7 separate regions of the Homo sapiens genome follow, and all the other regions are linked to region 6. The links are contacts of gene promoters, found by promoter capture Hi-C in blood cells and fetal thymus (Javierre and others, 2016). All regions are on one chromosome and are shown on one strand. The core of a region is centred on a gene start or on the middle of the fragment in contact, and the rest is flanking DNA. Distances in the headings are between cores, read along the strand shown.

Region 1 (3,634 bases), core at 1,107-3,606, 410 kb after region 6:
TTCATGCTTATCTTATTATTCTAGTCTCAATTTCATCTCCCTGACTTTTCTAATTAATATGGGGAAGGGCTTCCCCAGGGAATTTTGTTTCTGATTGTTGAGAGACAGTAGAATTCTTGACTAACAGTGGCTTCGTGTTTTCACTCAATGTTTTCTGCCTTCTTGCCTCACAGATAATTGAAGAAAATCCCTTAAGTAAACACAGCAGGAAGCTTCATCCTAACCATTGTCACGAGACTATTTTTTCCTAATAGACATCAACATTTATTTTTGTTATTCTTATTGGCCTTATTTATTGACACCAATTGTGTCTCTTTCTAAGGATTAGTAATCCTTACCAAATATCACACGGACTTTCTTACCTAAAACCAGCTCCCAGTATTTAAAAACAAAACAGAACACTTTCTTCCTTAGATATTAGATCAACAATGGTTTCTTCCTTTCAAAAAAACTCAAGTATTTTAGGCAGATCAGAACATTTGTCAGAAACACATTTTCAAGTGTGTTCTTATAGCGCTATCAGGACTGTGGAGCCTTTGCATACCACTGACTTGGCCTTTCTGCACTTCAGTTTGCAGGACTGTGAAAATAGGTATAATGATATGTTTTTCAAGTGTTTTTTGTGAGAACTAAGTCAGGGAATAAATAAAGCATCTGGCATATAGTAAGCTCTCATAAATTGTTAGTTCCCTTCTTTTGACAAAATGAAAGGACTTTTTAAGCACATTTATTTGTTGTTTAAACAGTTCTGCCAGCATCAGTCCTGAGGCACAGGCTAAATAAGACGCCATGATTTTCCCTGCATGGAGACCAAGTCAGGGAAACGATGTGGCATAACAGCTCAACCAGGCAGGCAGGGATCAGAGACTGTGGTGGGTATCTTATGGTGGCTCCACGAACAACCAACAAGAGGAATAACTCAGCAGCTTGTAGCTGTTTGGAAGCAGCAGTAGCAAACAGTCTGGAACCCTGGCCAGCCACCCCATCTACAGGCACTGAATGTAGAAATGCTTATGAGGGAAAGTGGAGAAGGAAGCGTGCTCCAGAGGGTTACAAAGGAAGTAGCTGCGGGGTGATGGAAGATTTGCAATCCAGATTTTGAATGGTCCAGACACTTTCCTCCCCAGACTGCATGGCCCCCTCGTCTAAGGATGATGCCTTATTTCTGGGCTTTCTCACGTCCTGTTTGTTCAGGTGAATTTCCCAGCAGTTCCTACTGTCTTCTGTGGTTTTCATCTCAAAATACCAAAATACCAAGACAGGGATTTCTAGTAGTGGGGCAGGCTGAGGGGACAATGCAGCAAGGAGATTGCTCTGAGAAGTTCAGGAAAGGTGTTGAGGTCAGAGCCAGCCTTCCAGGAAGGTAACTGGAGTGCCCAGGCCCTGGGCAAGCCCATGGCACCTCAATTCTCCTCCCATTGCACATTTTTTGGAGGAGCTGTGTCCTTTAATGTTAGGTCCCTGGGACCTGAGACTTATTTTGGATCTCCCACCTCTGAGGTTTATGAGCATCACAGTGTTCATAAAAATGCCTAATCTTAGGGAAAACTTTCTAAGCAGTCATGCTGCAAATGGAGAACATGTGCTAAAACTGGTAGAGATTTGATCACTAGTAAGCTGTTGGTCAAATTGACAAACAAGGGAAAACTTTTACAGAGATACAGAAATATTTTCCAAGTTATTTTATTGCTCTATGCATTTCTGAATATATGCATTTGATTATTCCCATGTATCCGTGATGGGCTTATTTTCGTGGCCCTGATGATCCCTGATATTCACCGCCTTGTGCTGTCCTTCCCAGTGACCTTGGCTTTTGACTTGATTTGGCCAGTGGATGTCAGAAAGCATGGCCCAGGCTTGATAAGAGCATGCAGGTTGGGCTTATATTCCTGGGACACCCTCTCTTACAGTGCTGAGCCTCAGGTAAGGAAATTCAGTTACCCATCTGGGAAAATGGCCACATGGAGAGAAAGGATGTCCAGGCAGCTCCCAGCCAAGTGAAGAAGCCATCCTGGATGTTCCAACCACATCAGACACTATTACCCAGCCCAGCTGAGCTCAGCCCAGATTGCCAAGTCATGGGGAATAATCAGTTGTCATTGTTTCAATTCAGTAAATTGTAGGGCTGTTGTTTGCAATAACAATAGATAGCAAAGACAGTGCTACTTACACAAACTGAAGCAACATTACTTATCACAATATACGTATATATAACAAGAAAGAATCAAATGAATCACTGAGGAAGTTTTATAGAAAAATGAGGAGTAGAAGAAATAATAAAGCCCAAAGTAAGTTTGTCTCACAGAAGGGCTTGCAGTTGCATCCTGAATGGTTGCAGTTGCATCCAGGTAGTGCTTAGCTTTGTGTGCCGAAATCAAACCCAGAGACATGATCAGCCATGAGATCCAGCACCTAGAAGGAAATGCAGCAGCGTCTATATGTAGACACTCGTGTCGATGTTGGCATGGAGTGTAAAAAACCAGGCAGAGCCTATTCCCAAAGGCTTCACTGAATGAGGGTTGAGTGTCAATTTTCCTTTTATCTTCTCTTTATGGTGAAATATAAAATACAACCAGAAAAGTACACAGGACCAAGATAATTTATCCACAAAGTAAACCTGCATAACCAGTACTCAGGTCGAAAGGATAACTTTGCCACTCCCAGAGGACCTGCCCCGAAAGGTAACAATTATCCCAACTTTTATAGAAATCATTTCCTTGCTGTCCCTTAGCAACTGAATAGTTGACTTAGTTTTGCTGGGTTTTGATCTTTATCTTAATGAAATTGTGCAGCAAGCGTTCTGGTGTATCTGGCTTGCTATGATGTTTAGCTGTAGATCATTCTTGTGTAGTTCCATACCTAGGAATACATCTTTATTATTGATTTGCATTTGGATCATTTTCAATTAGGGGCTGTAGAAAGCACTGCTGCCACAAGAATTGTATTTACCTCTTGGTGTACTTGTCCATGCAATGCTGTTCGGAACCGACATACCCAGAGGTAAATGTGCTGGGTCCTCCATTCTTCATGACCTTGGTTTTAATAATTTACACCAAGCAGTCTTTCCAAGTGGTTGTACTGACTTAAACCCTTTCCAGGGTGGTAGGGCTCTATAACTTTACACCTCAACCAAAGCCTTGGTGCTGCCAGGCTTTTTTGTGTTGGCCATTCTGATGCATGGGGCATGGTGATTTTCATTTAATTTTCCTTGATTACCTATTCATATCTTTATTGGTCATTTGAAGTCTCTTGTTTCATTTTCTACATGGTTGTCATTATCTTAATAATTTGCAGAAATCTTCTTCAAGTTAAACACACTACAAATATCTCCTCCCACTTTGCTGCTTACGTTTTTCTTTCTTCCTGGTGTCTTCAATGACTAGGGGGTCTTAGAATTATTGTAGAATAATTTATCAAGTTTTTCCTTGTATGGGTCATGCATTTTACTGCTTGTTTAATTAGTCTTTCTCTAGCCAATGTTCAAGAAGATATTCTTTTACATTTTTATTCAAAAGATGTGTTCTGACTTTCATATTTAGACCTGCAAATGTGTGTGTGTGGTATAAGGTAGCAATTTTCTCTTATTTCCATATGGATCTGAAGCAAAGCCACTACCACTTATTGAGAAGATTTT
Region 2 (3,363 bases), core at 440-2,939, 390 kb after region 6:
GAAGATTGTTTTGCCCAAGCTTGATTTCCTTCATGCCCATAAGCTCTTAGACACCACTTTCTGTTTTTCTATTTTCAGACTGAATTGAACAAAAATATTTAACTTTTACTCAGTGCTAAGTCTTTGCTTTCACTTTAAAATACATGATCTTTTCCAAACCATACACATATATTTTAATGGGTTGTTACTAGTTCATACTTGATCCATATTTTGTAGCTGAAAAAGTCCAAAGGCTGGAAGGTTTGGTTTCCAGAGCCCTGGACATCCTTGGAGGCAAATGCAAGCCCACTGTAATGAAGCAAGAAGGGAGTCTGGCTGTACTGGGTGCAGCCTGGTGCTGAGGCCTGGCCCTTTGATTTCTATGTGTGGGAATGCTCAAGTTGTAACTACTCTAAGTGGAAATTAGGAAAATGGGGACCCTGGGGGGATGGTGATCCAAGTTGCCAATTGTCCTTTAGGACTGTCATTGTTTTTTCTCACATTCTTGTCTTAGATTCTGCAGATGTGGTGATGTGGCGGGAGTAGTTAATAGCAGTAGTCATGGTATTTAACATCTGTGAAATCATACACACTTGGTAACCTTATGTTGATTCCACACCACACCATCTAATCACCATTTTCTCTTTCCTTTTTTCCTTCTCTCTTTCTCCCTCCCTCCTTTTTTCCTTTTCTTCTTCTATTCCCTGTTTTTTAAAGGCAATGTTGACATCATGATGGTCAGTAAAAAACAAACATTTACTCCAGCTTAAACAGCCCACCAAATAAGAATCCTTGAGTTCTGATTAAGTTCTGTATCTTACTCATTTACAAAATAAGAATGACAAAACTCCTCTCGGGGGTGTTATGGGCATTAGACAGATATTAGGGATGATGGTTAATTACAAGCAAGGCTGCTCCTATGGCCAGGAATAAAAACGCTTGTACCTACTTAACAGGCTGGCATGATTCATGTCTGGTGAGTTCACCCTTTGATTCAGGTGCCAGGTGTGATCAGCTCTTTCATATACATTATCCAATTAGTGGGATGAGCCTCTCGGCTGGCAAGTTCTGCTGGCTGCTCACTGCAGGCTCTTCAGGGTTGTCATGGAGACCATTGGAGCAGATGCCTTAAGCTGGCTGAGGTGTTTCTGAAAGATGGGAATCCCGGCTGGGGGACCCCAGATTCTAAACGAGGGCCATGTGACCTGAAGAAGATAACCCCCAAATCCCAGACTCCTACAAAGCCAGAGTGTCTAGCCAACATCGCAATAGTCAAGCATGCCACCACATGGCTCACAGGGAGAAGGCGTTCTGAACTCCCCCGGCTCATCTCTGGGTGTCTAACTGCACGCGGAAGCCAGGTGCTGGCTGCTGTGTTCCCAAGAGGCTCAGCCTAAGCTAGGAAGGCCAAAGTCAACTGAGGTAGGGCTTGGTGGGAAGTCTGTACCCTCTTTGGGGCAGCATTGGAAGAATGAATTGACTCAGACTTTCCAGTTGCACCTCAAGCCAATGTGGTGGGTGAGGCTGGCCCTAGAGGTGGACCCAGTAAGCACTGGAGAGTCAGCACAGGAGGCTTCTGGAGGTCCCCAGGGTCTCCTTTGCCACAATTGACACAAATCTGTTGATCAGACTGGCAAACCAGGCTCTTATAGAGTATGTCCTTCCTGGTAATGGTAATGGTTAGGACCCTTTTTTGAGTTTCTATTAAGTGCCAGGCACTGTGCTTCACCTACATTCTTTCACTTTACCCGCACGTTAACCCTAGGCAGCAAGTAATAGGGTATCTAATTTTTAGGTGAAGAAACTGAGGCCCCCACATAGCTATTGGCAGAGCTGGGATTTGAACCCAGTTGTATCTGGCTCTAAAGACTAACAGACTGTTACAGAGAACCAATGACCAAGAAACAGTGGACATTCAGTCCACAGCATTTGTTTCTTACAATCTTGCTCATTTAGAGACATCACTTATGCAAAGGGTAGAGAAAAAAAGATAACATTGTGGGTGGCACCAGCCAGTTAGTGTGGTTGCTGTGGCAACTTGTATCCCTGGTCCATAACAAGTGCTACCCCATAGCAATTCCCATGATCTCTGCTTCTTCATGGGAAACCAAGAAGATAAATGTATTAGTGCAGGACAGAGATAGCCAACTGTTCCCAACATCCATTCATCTTTTCTTCCTTTTAGGAATAGAAACCCTCAGAATTTTAATTGCATGCCTAGACTTTCATCTAGAGACTGCATTTCCTAGACTCCTTTGCTGCTAGACATGTCCATGTGACCAAGTTTGGGCCAATGAGATGAGAAAAGAAGCGATGTGTGCCTTAGGAAAAAAGGGAAATGTCCACTACTTCCTCCCCCTGACCCCTCAATCTAGGAAATTGGAGTAGTTGCCTGGAACCCAGAAATAGAAGCCATGTGTTGAAAGTGGCAGAGTAGTCACACTGGCCCAGGCTGTTTGCCTTTGTCGTCTTGTATTTGAGGGAAATAAATGTATTTCTGCCACTGTATTTTCAGGCCTTTGTTATAGCCATGCAGCCTATATCCCAACTCATGTAGTCCAATGGTGAAAGGTGACCTAAAATGGATCATTACTATAAGAGAATTCCCATTGTTTCCCTGCCTCCCCACTCAATGTTAAAACACTGAATATCTTTCAATGTCTGACTCCATGTGAGGGGCCTTTCTTTACAAAGCCCAGTTAATCAGGGCCAGGTGGATTCACTAAATGCATCCACGAAAGAGCAGATTAAGGAGATTGCAGAAGCAATGCAGGGTATGGCACTGACTTCTCTGTTAACAAGCCAGGGTGCTTGTTTGACTCTCATTTAAAAGATAAAGCCCAATCTTCATTTTTATCTTAAATAATCACTGGGAAGAAATTGTATGCATCTAGGACATACCTGGAATAAATAATAAATGGGCTTTCTTCATTTGATCTAGAGAACACAGAAGGCAGAAAGAAAAAAAAAACACGTGAAGAGAAACATAAAGCAACTTTTCTTTGAAATGTAAATGGAAGTGTGTGTGGCCTGGTAGAAGCAGCTCTGGGCGGGGGCGGGGGGTCTGGAAACCCAGGTTCCAACTCCTACTCAGAGCCTCACAATGTGTAAAAGGAGAAAGGGAGGGTCCTAAGTCCCTTCCCACGTCACCATGGTCAGATTCTGGGGAAGCTCGCATTTTCCAAAGCTGACGTCAACATCTCCCATCTCACGAGCTCTTCTACAATATGGGCCTTCCCTTCCCTTCCCACAAGAGTAGGGGAGACTAAAGCCCTTCCCTTAGATCTGGCCTAGCTGTCATGACACATGGCTCCCCAGGTCAAAGGAGGCCATGTAGCTTTTACGTGGGGACCTGGAAATCATAGTCTTCAGAAGCTTTCTGTC
Region 3 (3,325 bases), core at 744-3,243, 470 kb after region 6:
GGTTTTACACCCTCCTCATATCTCCTAGCGCCTTCTCTAGAAAATTTACTCCTTCTAGCCAGATTTTATTTGTCCTGTCATTTCTCCTTAAATGTATGGTTCTTTGTCTAAAGATTATAAAAGCATGTTGTTTTGGCCACTTCTTTAGACTTCACTGTCTTGTGAGGATCCCCATAAACATGTAAAACTAGTAAAATTGGTAAGCTTTTCTTTTGTTAATCTGGCCTGGTATCAATTTGGTTTCTAGGTCCAGCTGAAGAGTCCATTAAGACTAAAAAGGGGTTGGAGGTAATCTCTGGCTGTCTTACAAGGGTGAGGGATGCTGTCTGCCTTCTCAGGGCTTTGTCATTGAGGCTGGGAAGTCCCTTTGAATTCCCTCCAGGACCACACCCTGGAACTGATGACAATGCCTGCAGTGAGGGACCCCCTGCATCTTCTGGAGGGCCTCAAGCAATAGCCTGGGTTACCAGGACCAGCCCTTGGCGCTTCTGAGTTCTCCTTGTGGCCCTGCTCCAAGGAATCTTTTCCTTTTTTTTCATTCAACTGCACCTCATTGAATTTCTTATGTTTAGACAAAGTGATTCAGAGCTAGAAAGAAATTATTTAGGCAGATAGTGAGGGTAACAGAGTCCTCTGTAAGGTTTCCTTGCAATAAAAAGCAGCTCCTAAATCATGTCTTTTATAACAAAAAGCAGCCTGAAAAATCAAGCTGCAAGCATAGCTAAGCAAGCTAAAAGCTCACATAGGTAAATGCCGGCAGCTGTGTCAATAGAAAAGGGATCCCTGGAGCCAGGGATATTCAACATGGAGGTTCCCTCTTCCACTTTCCTTGTTGCCACGTGTGCAGTAAAAAAGCAGGCAACAAGGCTGAGGCGGGCGGATCATGAGGTCAGGAGATCGAGACCATCCTGACTAACACGGTGAAACCCCGTCTCCACTAAAAAATACAAAAAAATTAGCTGGGCGTGGTGGCGGGCGCCTGTAGTCCCAGCTACTCGGGAGGCTGAGGCAGGAGTATGGTGTGAACCCGGGAGACAGAGCTTGCAGTGAGCCCAGATCGCGCCACTGCACTCCAGCCTGGGCGACAGAGTGAGACTCCGTCTCAAAAAAAAAAAAAAAAAAAAAGCAGGCAACATGGCGTCGGCCAAGGAGAGACCTCATCTGCATAATAAAAGATTAGGGTGGGGCAGCCAGTTTCTTTTCGTGTTATGTAAATGGCCTGGCTGTCCAACCGATCTTTGGGCCCTATGTAATCAGACTCAAGCTCGTCTATAAAACCCTTGCATTTCCACACGGAGCCGGAAGAACCACTTGGGAGCCCTTGTCTCTCTGCAGGAAAGAGAGCTTTTCTCTTTTCTGTTGCCTATTAAACCTCTGCTCTTAAACTCACTTCTTGTGTGTCTGCATCTTTGATTTCCTTGGCGTGAGGCAACGAGCTCAGGTATTACCCCAGACAAACACAGCTGCTTCAAAAGTTTCAGAACATCTCCCCACCTCCCCCAACCCTGTTTGAGGTCACTACTAGAAACACTGTAACCTTCAGAAATATAGCTTTGTTGGGAAATAAATCAAAGTCTGATAAAGAGCTGTGATTTCTAATATGGGGCATGGGCCATTGTCATGATTTCCTTTTGACTGGGGCTTGTGCCCTGGAGCTGACTCCTCCAAGCCTGCAGAACTCACTGAAATGCACCCCTGCAGAGCGGACTGGGGTGGGAACCAAGGGGAAAGACATTGCCTGCCTGTGAACCTCACTCAGGTTCCATCTTAAATCTCCAGGCGGGAAAATACGTTTAGAAAGAATACTCTCTTAAGGAGACTGTTCTACTGCTCTACTTTGCTGTAATTCTGGTGAACATCCAGTGAATATCACGTAGACTGCTTTCCCTCCCCGGTCTGCCCCTGGTGGACCACTCTGGAAATAACTGCCCACTGTTACGTGCGTCCATGGAGGACAGAGGTCGGCCCAGCAGCCCCTATCCTGATTCCTTGAGTCACAAGAATACACCACGAGCCCAAAGGGTATTCAGCAGCCTCACTGCACCCACCTGGGAGCCAAGTGGGAGGTGGTGCCCCTGGCTGCGCACCCTGCTCTCTTCCCACCCACCTTTCACTCCTCACTGTTAAACACACACCACAAAGAAGAATCGACAGAAGTACATAGATCAGCATCAACGTTAAATGCAAAAACTCCCCCACTGCGAGTTCATTTTTAATTCAAAGTTTTTGCATTTGTATCACAATGTTTTAAACTCTACCCTCCTCACCCTTCTACAAGAAGGGAAGCCTTGCAAAGGGAGCTGCAGGCTGGACCAAAGAACACTTTCAGTAAAGGGTCATAGGCTGCCACGTGCCCAAGGGCTGCCCTCCCCAGGGTCCAGTGCTGCCAGTGCCTACCTGCCAATGGTTCTTACGATTCTAGTTTAGGCACTGGGAGAATTAAGCCAAGACTTAGGAATAAACATCCTCTTAGATCCATGAGTAGCACTTCCCTCTTGCTGACACTTAGCTCTCCCTGTTGCACTAACACTTGGGGTTGGAGAAGATGCTCCGGGGCCCAGGCCAGGCTCCTCTCCTGAGCCACGGCAGCAGCAGGGGCAGGGAAGCATATACCCACAGTTTGCCTGCTGCCTTTGTGGCTGCCCCCTGGGTGGTTTCTAGATACAGAATGAGATTATTTCCCTGTCACTCACAATTGTGGTAGAGTGATACTCCCAGGGTGGGGAGGGGAGGTCTCGGAATCCCAGGTGGCATCTGCAGCATTTGGAATAGCCCTCATCTTTCAGAGGCTCTGGCAATGTCAGCTGTATCTGAAGGCAAACCTGATTCCGCAAAGCATCAAATCCATGGCCAGGATTTGTGATGTCCTCCTGATCACAAACCACATCGATTCTCAGCTGTGTGGGCTCTGTGTGCACAGTTCAGTACCAGGGAACTGGAGATGGCGGCTTGGGGTCACCGTGCTATGCACGCACAAGCAGGCTGCTGAGCCTGGCAAAACTGTACTCCTAATTTTCAGTGGCAATGCATTTTCCTTCCTTGCTGAGCTGCCCTGAACATCACCTAAGAATAATGCCAGGTGTACTTTAAAAGCATAACAGCACCTGGGATCCACTAAGCGAGACGTATGACGGCAGTCAGGGTGGACTGAGGCCACCACTTCAAGGATGAGGTAGATTCTAGGGAAGTGCAACCTTAGCCAATGTATCTGTGAGCTGGCCAGAGTCCGAGGTCACCCCTCACTGCTCATGGTAATCAGGGAGTCAGGAAAGTATACCATCCCCTACCGAGTGCTTCTGCCATCCTCTATGCCAAAAATGGCATC
Region 4 (3,283 bases), core at 445-2,944, 430 kb after region 6:
TGATTATTACTGACAATTTTGTCTTATGGAAGAGAGGAGTGTTGGCAGTAATCAGGGTGTCAAATATGCCAGGTCTGTCTGCTACATCACACTATAACAGGGGCAGAAATTCAGGTCCTTTTTGGGTTTTGTTTTTGCATACAGTTTTCCCACACCTGAAAAGCAGATGGTATATTACACATACTGTTACGTTTTCTCTTGCCAAGGTGCAGGTGTCCTTTGTGTGTTGTTAAACCCTCACAATATATACTTTATGCAAAGTGTACATCCCAGTCAAGCCCATAGGAAAGGCATTACCCATCGACACTTCTGAAATCTTCTGCCCCTGTGGTTCTAGCAATACAAGAATGACTGCTTGAGAATCTCTAGCCTGGCATCTCCAGGCCCCTGGCTTTCTTCTGTGCTGGAGACAATAGTGCTCCATAGGACACTCCTTTGTGGCTGGCACCCACATCCGCCTCCTGCTGGAGCAATGCTACTGAAGTCTCTAGCTGAGCCCTCCCCAGGGCCTGCCCTCAGCCAGGTTCTACCCCATCCTTGAGCTGCCCCCATCCAATGGCTGGTTTAGGAGGTGCACGAAGGTCTAGCCTGGTGCATTAGGACAAGCCTGAAGTGCCCCCAGCTGAGCCTTTCCTTGGGCCTCCACAGCTCAAATTCTCCTGCTACCCAGTCCTGTCTCCTTACTCCCTATGGGCATTGACCCTCGGGGCACCCCCAGTCTACTGCCTATGCACAAGTCAGAGGCTGTTCCTGGGAACTCTGTTATGACACATCCCTCCTCCCCAAACCCACACCTTGCGTGGATTTGGCCTTCTGGCCAGTGCCCTCTTCCCCAAATGCACCTGTAAGTCCCCATCTTGGTCCCTGTAGCAATCAGTGCTGTGCATTAAGTATGTCCTTCTGGGCTTGTGGGAGGCTTCTGTTCCTGGCCCCTGTGTCTGATAAGCTGGGGAAACATATGACACGTGTCAGTTCCAAGGGAACTGTTGGTTACAGCAGCACCATACTGAACATCTGACTGATAAAGCTCCTTTGGGTTAGAACCTCCCTCTCTGCATTTTTCTGGCCATTTTTACCTTCCAAATTCTGGACAAAATGCAGCCCTCTCTGTAGACCTCCAAATCCAGTAGGGATCCAGTGTTCGTCTTTGTTCTCTTGAAGTCCGTCTTCCCCAGGAGACTGACAATGTCTTCAGGACAGGAAGTGCATCTTAGTGACCCTCCATCCCTCACAAGGCCTTGGTCTGAGTAGAGAGGTAATGCTTGCTGAGAAGACAGGGGACTCATGAGGACCTGAGTGAGGTGCCCAGGATAGATGATGAATAGGCACGTGCGAAATAAGTTTGCCAACAGGAGAGCCATTCCTGACACCGGTGCTAAATGTCACACATCACGTTCCTTTCATCAGCCATAGAGCAAAATCCATGGACTCTCACTTATCCACTGAACACCCCACATTCTTAGACAAAAGAATGATTTAAGTGGGTCTGCAGTATTCTGTAACATATTGTTCTCGGCACCACATGCTTAATACTGATATCAGGTGTTTGCTCCCAGTTACTTCTGCAGGCTCATGTATTGAGCAAACATCAGTATCCTGGGGCCCAAATACTGCTGAAAGCAACTGAAAATATGACAGTGACTACCATTAATATCAGCCCTAATGAACTTTCCATTGTATCCAGAGTACCAATACTGTCATTTCAGCACCTCTGCATGGGTCTTAAAGGGCAGATCTACTATCCCTGCCCTCTGCAGAGGTTCAGGGAGGCTGACTGCCTGTAGGCGAACCACAGCTGGAATGGGGTACCTGCTGGGGGATTCTCACAGAGCAGCGTTCTGCTGTGGGGTAACCGCCGTCTCCTGCCGCTCTTCTGCCTCTGCCATTACTGGTCCTGTTTTCTGACTCACTTACAATATTTCGAGGAGAACCTGAGGGTTTCCCTCTTCATTCTGTTCCTGAATTATTTCCCCCAAATTATTTCAGATTATGTATTTACTTTTAATTATCTTTATATTGATTATTTGTTCTAAAACTCTGTTATGTTGATTTATTTCAGCCTTGGTATTTTGATAACACCACTTAAGCCTCAGCTGTCTGGCCAGTTAAATGAGACAAATCATATGAAGCAAGCACATGCTGATTTGTAGGTCTGCCTTCTCACTGACCTGCTGTGGGGCAAGAATTGGGTTGCAGCCCCTGATCTGCACAGGAGTGCACAAGCAGTCTGCCACCCAGGCAGCTTCTGTGACTTCACAATCAAAGACATTTCTGAGGCTGAAGATTCTTCCTTGACCTCAGCATCCTCCTTCACAGTACCTACTGCAGGGGTGACTACTGCTGAGTACAGGAGCTGGGGGAGATCTCGCAGGCAAAGAAGAGAGACAAGTGCGGTCCCATGAGACCCGGAATGCTTATGGTCTACCCTGCAGTCAATTGACAGCAATTCTTGTTTGGAAATCAATGCATCTGCACTCTGAGTTGCACTGGATCCTGGCGGACCAGAGCTCTGCACGCTTTCTACTCTCCAGCCTGTGTGCAGAAGTTGTAATACTAAAAATGACATTCTCCAAACTCCCTTGCAGCTAGATTCTGGGCCTGATTTTATTTCATTTTGACTAGGTGCACTTACTTGCCATTTACAGGACAGAAGGGAGTGGGGGCTGCGCTTTGCCGTGTCTGCCATTTCCATTGTGAAGCACAGTGGAGAGGTCCTGGTTTTCTGCAGCAGTTTTAGCAAGAGGTCCTGATTTCTGGGCAGTGGCTCTGTGAGTGTCAAGAGCAGGGCTTGGAGCAGCCATTTTGCTCATGAGCAAGTAGCAGACACTCATAGTTCTGGGCCTCTTTTTGGTCCCTAGCTCCTAAGGCGAGGTATTCCTGAAGCATTTGGTTGTGGCTGGTTTTCCAATTTCCTAATCATAATAAAGGTGGGTGATCTGAGAGCCAGAGGAAGCCCAGCATCCTTTCTCCCCACTCCATTGTCTAACTTCTTGCTGGAAGCACCATGGGTGGAGTCATCCGGCATGTCCACTAGGCTGCCTAGAGTAGCTCTTTGCACAATGGAACACAATCTTGAGTGCAGAAATGATGCATCCATCTAGAAGACTCTTCAAAAGAGGTGCATTTCTCATGAGTCAGTAAGTCTCTATGCGCAACAGGTCACAATAAATTGGAAATGCTAGTGTTGGGATGTTCTTTATTATTAATGATAGGAATTTCTTCATTGGCCTTTAAAAAAAACTCCTGGAAGGTGAGTATTAGCTGGAATCGGATTTGCTGTCCT
Region 5 (3,151 bases), core at 4-2,503, 370 kb after region 6:
TAGTGACCCTATAGGCACTGCTGATCCTCCTCTGGACCTAGAGACCTATCGTGAGGCTCAAGTCCCAGTAGATCCTAAGGTGAAGTACAAGTTGTGACCCACAGAGAGGTGTGATGGACACCAAAAGAACTATGTGATGTTTCTAGCTTATAGTGACAGAAACCTGGGGAATATGTGTGGGAATGGATCTTAAGGGTGTGGCATCAAAGTGGAAGGAATATAAAGTTGTATCAGTCTGAAATTACTGATACAGGCTCACTGAGAGTATGGACTCAGTGTTTTAAAGTGATGGGTTAGAAAGGACTCTAATAGTTTGATTGGTTGACTGAGATATGTGTGTTAAAGACTCTGCCAGTGAAGTCTCAGAAAAAAGTGAGGAGCATTATAGAAAAAGCTGAATCACTTTAAACAGATTGCTAGTAGAAATCTGGACTTTAAGGATACTACTGACATGGGCCAAGAAGGAAGTGAGAAACACGTTATTGGAAACCTGAAGAAAAGAGATCCTTGTTATATAATTGCAGAAAGTTTAGTGAAATTGTGTCCAGTTGTTACATAAAAAGCAGAACTCATAAGTAATAAACTGGAATATATAGCTAAGGAAATTTCCAGGCAAAGTGTTGAAGGTGCTGCTTGTTTTTTTCTTGCTTTTTATGTTAAAATGTAATAGAAGAGAGACATATTGAAGGAAGACTTATTGAAGGGACAACGACTTGATAATTTCAAAAGTTTAGCCTCTCCAGGTGGCAAAAAATACCCCTAGAAGTCAGAGATGGATGCCAAAATTATGACATAGAGAAAAGGCTGAATATGTGTTTGTGCAGCTCTTTGCTGAAACCCTGGAAAGCTCAGAGGTCTTGTGTATTCAGCCACATAATGACTCTTCCAAGGGATTAAGAGTGTTCCATGTAGATCTTCTAATCAAACCAGAGAGCCTCTGGGAAGCTTAAAAACACTGGTGTTCAGCACTCCAAGCAGAAGCCAAAGATAGAGAAGAGATTATTAGAGAAAGATTTGTGTGTATAGCTTTTGTCTAATGCAGAGAAACCCAGTGAAAATACACACAAGGCCCACACACTTTAGAAAAAAACATTGTATTAGTGGAAATATTTTAGCAAAACAGATTAGCAGAAAATAAAGATGCCAACTAGGACTAAATGGAATATAGATATTACAAAATGGCAAAAGCAGACTGATAAAATTCCCCAGCTGCAAACACCTGTCACCTTTTGTGAAAAACGGAGCATGACTCTAAGAGCTAAAGCAGGAGCCCAGAAGTTGAAGATGAAAGCCCAGAGCAGCTGAGAGACACAGGTTACCTGGCTTTGAGACCTGGTGGATTTTGCCCAGCTGGGTTTCAAAACAGATTGAAACAAATGACTCCTTTTTACCTTCCATTTCCCCAATTTTGGACTTGAGTTCTATAACTGTTATTCTTTCCACCATTGTGTGTTGGGAGTATTGGAGAAAGATACCTTGTGTCTTTTATTTCACAGGTGTGTAGGTGGAGACAAATTGTGCCCCTGGAGCTGTACTTAATGGGTGACACTCAGAAGCTTTATCTACACCTGATTCAGATAAGTAGATAATGAGTTTTGGGCTTTTGAGCTGGTGAGATTCTGGACTTTATCTAGTGTGATAATGGGATGAGACTGTTGGAAACCTTGGGGAGCAGGTAAATGTTTTCTGCAAGTGAGAGTGAATTATGGGGCCAGAGTTTGTACTCTGGTGGACAGAACTGTAGGTGGCCCTAATGATCTCTGCCCCCATTGCAGCATCCATGATTAGGTTAAGTGATATAGCAAAGAAATCCTGCCTATGTGGTTACGGTCACTAATGAGTTGATGTTAAAATAAAAATATAATCTGGGTGGGCCTAACCTAACCATATGAGCCCTTTAAATATAGAGTTTTACATAGATGGACCTGGAATCATTATCATAAGTGAAATAACTCAGAAACGGAAAGTTAAATACTGCATGTTCTCACTTGTAAGTGGGAACTACACACTGGGTATGCATGGACATATAAAGTGGAATAGCAGATGTTAGAGACTCCAAAAGATGAGGAGATGGGAATGGGGTGAAGGTTAAAAAACTACCTATTTGGTACAATGTTCACTATTTGAGTGACGTGTACGCAAAAGTCCAGATTTCACCATGATGAAATATATCCACATACATGTAACAATACTGCACTTGTACCTCCTAAATCTATTTTTTTAAAGTGGAGTTTTATCTGATTGGTAGAAGAAGAGGAAGTCAGAGAGATTCCAAGTATGAGAAGTATTTGATGAACAATTACTGGCTTTGAAGATAGAGGAGGCCATGGAGCAAAGAATGCAAATGGCCTTAGGAGCTGAGAATGGCCCTTGACTGACAGCTAACAAAGAAATGGAGAAGTCAGTCAAGCAATAGCAAAAAATGGAATTCTCCCATCAACCTGAACAAGCTTAAAAGCAGACTCTTCCTCAGAACCTTGGTTAGAGCCCAGCCCAGCCAAAATTTCAGCCCTGAAAGACCCTAAGTAGAGACCCCAGTTGAGCCCACTTGGACTTCTGACCTACAGAACTGTGAGATAATGAATGGAAGTTGTTTGAAGCCATTAAGTTTATGGTAATTTGTTACACAACAATAGCCAACTAATAGACTCCATAATCCCAACAAACAACCTTAACTTCCATAAACAACTATTTATTGAACACTTACTGTACTTAAGGTATATGAAAGGGACATAAAGAGATAGCAACTATAAAAATGTAATTAGCTAATATTTATGGAGCAGTTCTACAATGTGCCATATAGTCTCCTGATTATGTGTGAATTATCTCATTTAATCTCCACAATCTGTGAAGGATGTAGTAGTTTATTACTAACAAAGGAGTAGAAACATGAAGGGTACGTAGATTGTCTAAGGTTTATTTATAAAACACGACAGACAGTAAGCACAACCAGTATAATTTCCGTATTTTCTGGGGTAGTGCTGATTTAAAATATTCGGTCTTCTTGCCTCCTGATTGCATTTATAATTGTCAAACCACATTCCTGGGTCTGTGGTTCAGAAAATATGGTCATCCTGCTTATAAAATAAAGACATATGTACCATAGGAGCCCTGACTCTCAAGGCAGCCATCTGTGTCCAGTGCAATGGGT
Region 6 (3,226 bases), core at 715-3,214:
TGCAGCCTGCTTGACTCACCTGTTGACCTCCATAACCCACATGGACTGTGTAGATGGGCTCCAGTGACCACCTCACAGTGACAGGGTGACTCCATGGAACTTGTGCCTGCTTGTTCTAAACTCACCAATTAGAACTTCCATGGGAAACTGCTTGGGTAACACGCTGGACCCCAACAGAGGCTTTAGCTCCACAAGTGCCCCTTCCTTGACCCCCTTCCACTGGCTGAACTCCCTGTCACCTCCAGATTTACCCTCCCTCTGGTGACCACAAGACCAAATTAGAAAGAAACCATAACAATAAAAATCACAACACCCAGCAGTCAACATGTACATCATTATCAGAAAAGAGGAAAGATACAAAGGAAGCAAAGTTTTCCTTGTAGTAAACTTCAGGAAAATTTTCCTGCATGGAACTTTACAAAAGATAGAATAAAAAGTGGGCTGTGCATGGTGGCTCACACCTGTAATCCCAGCATTCTGGGAGGTCAAGTTGGGTGGATCACTTGATGTCAGGTGTTCAAGACCAGCCTGGCCAACATAGAAACACCCATCTCTACTAAAAATACAAAAATTACCCAGGTGTGGTGGTGTGTGCCTGTGATCCCAGCTACTCAGGAGGCTGAGGTGGGAGGATCATTTGAGCCTGAGATGCAGAGGTTGCAGCGAGAGGCGATCACACCACTGCACTCCAGCCTGGCCGACAGAGCCAGAACCTGTCAAAAAATAAAAAATAAAAATAAAAATAAAAGTGCCTTCAACATCATTTTACAGCAGATGCAGTAATGGAATTCAGTCTACTTTTTGTTTCTACATTGGATAAAAGTTGAGGACATAATGAAGGATGTTTTGCTTAGGACTAAAAAATACAAGAAATTTCTGTGGCACTAGACGTATGCTCATAGCAGCACACTTTTCAAACAGTATTCTTTTTTTTTTTTTTTTTTTTTTTTGAGACAGAGTTTCACTCTTGTTGCCTGGACTGGAGTGCAATGGTGCAGTCTCAGCTCAGGGCAACCTCCGCCTCCCGGGTTCAAGCAATTCTCCTGTCTCAGCCTCCCGAGTAGCTGGGATTACAGGCGTGTGCCGCCACACCTGGCTAATTTTGTATTTTTAGTAGAGACAGGGTTTCACCACGTTGGCCCGGCTGGTCTCAAACTCCTGACCTCAGGTGATCCACCTGCCTCGGCCTCCCAAAGTGCTTGGATTACAGGCGTGAGCCACCGCCCCCTGCCCAGTATTCTTAAATGCAAGCTTTCCCATTAGAGATCTGATAAAAGCTAGGTAGCATTAATTATACTGCAACGTGCTTTGATGAGTACCTACACACTAAATTGATATCCCGAGTTTCTGGAAGAGCTACATACTCTAAATCCCATCTCAGCGTATGGCTTGTTTGAACCCCTGTAAGACTCTTTCCGTCCAGGAAGGGCCATGGGACATCGGTACGAGTGGGTGGGCTGGAGAAAGAACTCCTTTGCCTGTTTGCTGTTCTCATCCTTTTCCTGAACGCCACGTAGTAAACATCATTTATGCTTATCAGGGACGCTAAACCAACAACCTGAGATCCATAAGTAAGGCAGTGACCAACGATGGGCTGCCACACTTTCAGCCAACTTGAGGAGACAAAACTTTTTTGTTCACTTTTGCAGCTTACTTAACACAGGACCGCAGGGCATGGTCCAGGGAGTACGGGGAGATAATTCCCTCCGGGTGGTTCTTATAGAAAAGTCTTCCCTGAATTATTCCATAACCTTGGAAAACTACTTTCTTTCCTTTTGTATTGGACAAACCATCCAATCTCGCTTGGAGAATGGGGCAAGGCCTCGGGTCACCGGGCTTCGGCGGGGCAGTGAGGGGCGGGAACACGGCTCCGGAGGGCGGGGCCAAGCCGGAGCGAGGCGGCGGGTCCGGACGCCGTGCGCGTGCGCGCGGCAGGTCGGCGCCGGGCGGGGGCGGAGCGGCCGTCGCAGGTCCACGCCGTAAACAGACAACATGGCGGCCGCGGTGGCGGCGGCACCTGGGGCCTTGGGATCCCTGCATGCTGGCGGCGCCCGCCTGGTGGCCGCTTGCAGTGCGTGGCTCTGCCCGGGGTTGAGGCTGCCCGGCTCGTTGGCAGGCCGGCGAGCGGGCCCGGCGATCTGGGCCCAGGGCTGGGTACCTGCGGCCGGGGGTCCCGCCCCGAAAAGGGGCTACAGCTCTGAGATGAAGACGGAGGACGAGCTGCGGGTGCGGCACCTGGAGGAGGAGAACCGAGGTGAGGTGCGAACGCTGGGCAGGCGCGGGGCAGCGGGCGGCCGCTCGCTCTCAGGACGGGCATAAGGTGCAGCGTCCGCCGGCAGGACGCGGGGTCGAGGTCAGGCAGGCGCACCGAACCTGGGTCCCTCCCCTTTCTCACCTCCCTACTCACCCAGCGTGGCCGCTTCCTTGTGCACCTATTTCTTGCTTTTAATAACCTAAACGTGTACCCCCGAGCAGCTTACCTGTAAAGTGACCGCATTCAGCGCGGCAAACAGAAGTGCAGCTTACGCCCTCCGCTCCAGACAAGCCAAGGTCAATATATACCCTGGGGATTTAATCCTTGCTACCAGGCTTTATTGTTGCTGTGTAATGGCTTTCTGTAAACTCAGCTATTAGTGGTGGAGTTGTAAAAGCTGCGGTGAAACTGCCTTTTATTATTACGGAGAATCTTAAATTTGAAGCTGCTCAGCTGGAACAATTTTTCCTCTTGTTCATTTTCTCTTAGAAAGTTAGTCTTGAGGGACTGTTCCACTTCATTTAAACAATTTTGAGCACTTTTTATTTTCCTCAGCTCTGGCGATAAGAATGTGGATGGTATGGATCTTGCCCTTGAGCTACCTTCTACGGGAGGAGACATCATTAGCAATACAATACAGAGCTTTGAAGGCTTTGAAGGAGGCTGACAATCCTAGGGAATACTGTTACAGCTCAGTTCCTTTCACTGGCAGTGCAGGGAAAAGCTAAAAGGGTCGTGAAGGGTGGAATAGCAGTTTCCACCCTTAACCTCCGGGTTAAGCCAGAGGACCAGTGTTTTAATTTTGACATGCATTTGTTGAGCACCTATAATCTGTTAAGCAGAAGTGAAAAGCGTGTAAGTCGTGATTGGTTTTAGTGTAGTGAAGCAGATCCTGGTTATTAGTAGGCTGTGTGAACTTTCAAGGCATGGTAAGAGGAAAGGGCTGTAATACCTGCAGGGTTTCGCCATTTG
Region 7 (3,493 bases), core at 81-2,580, 350 kb after region 6:
GAGATGCAGGCCTTCAGAACAGGGTTTCTGATGGCTCTGCCTCCACTCCCAGAGAGTCTCTCAGTGGTGCCTCTTCTGTGCCAGACCCTTCTGCATAGGCGGGCAGATGCCATAGCACCCCCAGGCCTCACACCCACTCAGGGCCCCTTCTCTGAGGAAGAGAGATGATAGCATGTCACGTGGACCCAGAAGAGCAAGGGAGAACCTTCCCCAAATCCCCCAGCACAGCACTCCTCACATCTTTTCCACCAGAATTGGTTCACGTGCCAATTTTTGAGCCAGTCTCTGGAAAGAGCTATGAGCTTAGACAACCTAATGTAATCTCTGGATTAGGATTATCTTTCTCTGAAGAATATGGCAGAGAGTTTATGTTCTGAACAAGTTTGAGATTTCGTTAGTAAGGAGGAGGTGGAAATGAATTAATTCTAAGTAAACAACAATCAGTCACTTGAAAGAAAACAAAGATAGACTCCTACCTTGTTCCGTGCACAAAAAGTCCAAGTTTAAATAATGTATTAGTTCATTTTTGCACGGCTGTAAAGAAATACCCCGAGACTGGGTAATTTATAAAGAAAAGAGATTTAATTGGCTCACAGTTCTGCAGGCTGCACAAGAAGCATGGTCGGGGAGGCCTCAGGAAACTTACAATCATGGCGGAAGGCAAAGGGAGAGTAGGCATGTCTTACACGACAGGAGCAGGAGCAAGAGAGAGAGCAGGGAGGTGCCACACACTTTTAAACAACCAGATCTCATGAGAACTCTATCATGAGACAGCACCAAGGGGATGATGCTTAACCGTGAGAAACCATCCCTGTGATCCAATTACCTCCCACCAGGCCCCACTGCCAAACATTGGGTATTACAATTGAAAATGAGATTTGGGTGGGGACACAGATCCAAACCATATCAAATAACTAAGTGTAAAACAAACCCATACAAGTATTAGAAGAAAATATAGAAGAATGTTGCCTAATCTTGGGGTGAAAAAGGCCTTGTCAAGCAACAAACAAAACTCAAAGGACATACAGGCAGACAGAGGCTGGTTTCACGATGGAAGTTAATCATTTCTATATGGCAAAAAAACAGAGAGAGTCAAATAGCAAGTGACAGGGTAAAACATTTGAACTATATGTGGAGAAAGGTTTAATATCTCTCATATACAAAGAACTTCTTCAGAAAAGGAAAAATAAAGGTCCAGTTGAAAAGTATCAAAGGATATGAACAGGCAAGAGAAAATGCAAAAAGTAAGAGAAAATTAAAACTCTCGACCTCATTAGTATGAGGACAATTAAAATTAAAACAACAAAATGCCAAATTTACTATCAAATTTTAACAAATTAGAGAAAGTTTATAGGATCCAATATTGGAAAGGATTTAGAGAAACTGTACTCCCTGATTTTACAGATGGGAGTGTGCATTGCCCCAAATGTTAGAGGAAGTAATCTGACAGTATCTGTTAACTCTATGATGGAGAAATCCCACTTTTAGCAATATGTTTTACAAAAATTAAAAAAATAGAAATATGCCCAAAGATATTCTCGTGCATTTATTGTAACAGAAAAACACAGAACACAATCTGAATATCTATCCATGGTGGAATTGCTGTAAAAACAATGCAGCATACATACTGTGCACTAGCATTGATATTAAAGGCGTGGGTTAAACCCTGAGTAAGAAGGCATAAGAAGGCAGCAGTGGTGGCATAATTGTGAATGTTCTGGAAACCCTCAACAAATCCAACCAGAGCAATTGAAATAATAAAAACTCATTATCTATGAATAACATAACAAAATGAGTTGATAAGGTGTCTCCCAAACCACAAATAAAAGCGGGTGGAGTCAGACCACAGATGGCAACAAGGCCTATGTGATACAGGCTGCTGGGCAGGAGGTGGTGAGGGAGGACAGGACACTCTATGAATGCTCCACACCAGCCAGCCAAAGTTGACCTCCTGACAAACCTCCACAGTGAAGAGGACCCTGCCACTTTGCTCTCGAAAGTCTCCTGTCTCTCTCAATCATCACTCGTTTATTTAAAAAAAATGTTGTTTGTATTTTTGTTGATATATCATGGCTATACATATTTTGGGGCTACATGTGATATTTTGATACCTGTATCCATTATGTAATGATCAAATCACGGTAACTGCAATATCCACCATCTCAAGACTATATTTTCTTTGTGTTGGGAACATTACAATTCTTCTCTTCTAGCCATTTTGAAATATGCAATAAATTATTGTTAACTATAATTTCTCTGCTGTTCTATAGAATACTAGAAGTTATTCCTTCTAACGATATTCTTGTACACATGAATCAACTTTTCTTCATCCCTTCACCTTCCTTCCCTTCCCTGTAAAAAGTATTTTTGCATCTATATATATGAGAGGAATTTGCCTGTTCTTTTCCTTTCTTACAATGATGTTGCTTGGTTTTGGTGTCAAGGTCATGCAGGCTTCAGAAAACAGGTTCCTGGGGGTTTCATTGATTTCTGTTCTCTGGAGGAGTTTGTGTAAGATTTGCATTAGTTTTTCACTGGGCAGCCATTTGGGTCCGGAGTTTTCTCTAAGAGAAGGTTTTAATTTATGGTGTTAATTTCTTCAATATTAAAGGATTATCCTTGTTTATTATTTCTTCTGGAGTCAGCTTTGGTGAGTTGGAGTTTCCTAGGAATTTGTTTACTTTTCTCTTAAAAATTTAAGTTTATTGGTTTATTGTAATTATCATCTTACTATCACATTCCTATCTCCAGAAGCTATAGTGATGTGCCCCCCTCCTGACCTCCATTTCTGATTCTTGGGATTTGTGTCCTCTTTTTTACATTGATAAGTCTTAGCAGGAGTTTGACAAGTTGCTTCTTTCAAAGAAAGAACTTTCGCTTTATTGAGCCTTTGTATTAGATGTCTATTTTCTATTACATAAATTTCTGTCCTCTCATTTTATTCTCTTTCTCCAACTTTGCCTTTTTTTAAAAAAAAATTAATTTGGTAATCTCATTCTAATTTCTTTAGATGGATACTTAGACCACTTGGTATTTAGTTATTTATGTTCCTTCATGTATCTGTTTAAGTTTTAAAATTTCCCTCTAAGCACCGTGTTAGCTGCATCTCACAAGTGTTTAGATTTTTGTTATCAAGTTCAAAATAATTCCTAATTTCCATTGTAATGTCTTCATTGATCCTTGAGTGCTTTAGAAATTTATCCCTTACCTTCCAAACATATGGGAATTTTCTAATTAGCGTTTCATTATTATTTTCCAGATTAACTGAGCAGTGATCAAACAGCTCCATGGGACAAGGAGAAGCTGGGCTCACCTCATGGAATATGGCCAAGACCTCAATGGGCCTGGAGGTGATGTGGTGGCAGCTGGGGCAGAAGCAGCTGGGGACCTCTGCAAACAAGGGGTGCGGGTCCCTGGAGTCAGGAGAGGCTGAATGCATCTGATAAGGGGCATAAATTGTGTTCAATGAAATATCTTTCATTAGTTTGGGGAA

Evidence for each region. The method cuts DNA at HindIII sites, captures the fragments that hold promoters and counts their contacts. A CHiCAGO score of 5 or more calls a contact.
Region 1: a fragment that was not itself captured here is called in contact with the fragment with the promoter of AUH in region 6 in 1 of 17 cell types (activated CD4 T cells); the score reaches 6.4 in activated CD4 T cells.
Region 2: a contact is called between a fragment that was not itself captured here and the fragment with the promoter of AUH in region 6, in 1 of 17 cell types (endothelial precursors). The highest score is 5.7, in endothelial precursors.
Region 3: a contact is called between a fragment that was not itself captured here and the fragment with the promoter of AUH in region 6, in 1 of 17 cell types (naive B cells). The highest score is 5.2, in naive B cells.
Region 4: a contact is called between a fragment that was not itself captured here and the fragment with the promoter of AUH in region 6, in 5 of 17 cell types (activated CD4 T cells, naive B cells, endothelial precursors and 2 more). The highest score is 9.6, in activated CD4 T cells.
Region 5: a fragment that was not itself captured here is called in contact with the fragment with the promoter of AUH in region 6 in 2 of 17 cell types (endothelial precursors and activated CD4 T cells); the score reaches 7.0 in endothelial precursors.
Region 7: a fragment that was not itself captured here is called in contact with the fragment with the promoter of AUH in region 6 in 6 of 17 cell types (activated CD4 T cells, M2 macrophages, total CD8 T cells and 3 more); the score reaches 10.0 in activated CD4 T cells.

What each region holds. Positions count from the first base shown.
Region 1 is chr9:90,947,331-90,950,964 of GRCh38, reverse strand. All of the region lies in intron 1 of LOC105379829 (a long non-coding RNA gene), which reads left to right. Among named protein-coding and RNA genes, the nearest start is that of LINC02957, 48 kb to the left of the region's middle. The HindIII fragment of the contact is 4,284 bases long and covers 215-3,634 here.
Region 2 is chr9:90,967,142-90,970,504 of GRCh38, reverse strand. No RefSeq gene overlaps it. Among named protein-coding and RNA genes, the nearest start is that of LINC02957, 28 kb to the left of the region's middle. The HindIII fragment of the contact is 3,335 bases long and covers 22-3,356 here.
Region 3 is chr9:90,888,943-90,892,267 of GRCh38, reverse strand. All of the region lies in intron 13 of SYK (spleen associated tyrosine kinase), which reads right to left. Among named protein-coding and RNA genes, the nearest start is that of SYK, 89 kb to the right of the region's middle. The HindIII fragment of the contact is 3,574 bases long and covers 207-3,325 here.
Region 4 is chr9:90,930,833-90,934,115 of GRCh38, reverse strand. It overlaps LOC105379829 (a long non-coding RNA gene), which reads left to right. Exons shown (of 4, transcript XR_001746828.2): 3 at 2,060-3,137. It overlaps LOC105376143 (a long non-coding RNA gene), which reads right to left and starts at 1,165. Exons shown (of 3, transcript XR_001746829.2): 1 at 1,077-1,165; 2 at 843-946. The HindIII fragment of the contact is 3,910 bases long and covers 1-3,283 here.
Region 5 is chr9:90,988,614-90,991,764 of GRCh38, reverse strand. No RefSeq gene overlaps it. Among named protein-coding and RNA genes, the nearest start is that of LINC02957, 6.8 kb to the left of the region's middle. The HindIII fragment of the contact is 611 bases long and covers 948-1,558 here.
Region 6 is chr9:91,360,656-91,363,881 of GRCh38, reverse strand. AUH (AU RNA binding methylglutaconyl-CoA hydratase) reads left to right here and starts at 1,964. Exons shown (of 10, transcript NM_001698.3): 1 at 1,964-2,254. The coding sequence starts at 1,993. RefSeq lists a silencer at 1,794-2,233. The HindIII fragment of the contact is 2,357 bases long and covers 1,254-3,226 here.
Region 7 is chr9:91,007,206-91,010,698 of GRCh38, reverse strand. No RefSeq gene overlaps it. Among named protein-coding and RNA genes, the nearest start is that of LINC02957, 12 kb to the right of the region's middle. The HindIII fragment of the contact is 4,761 bases long and covers 1-3,493 here.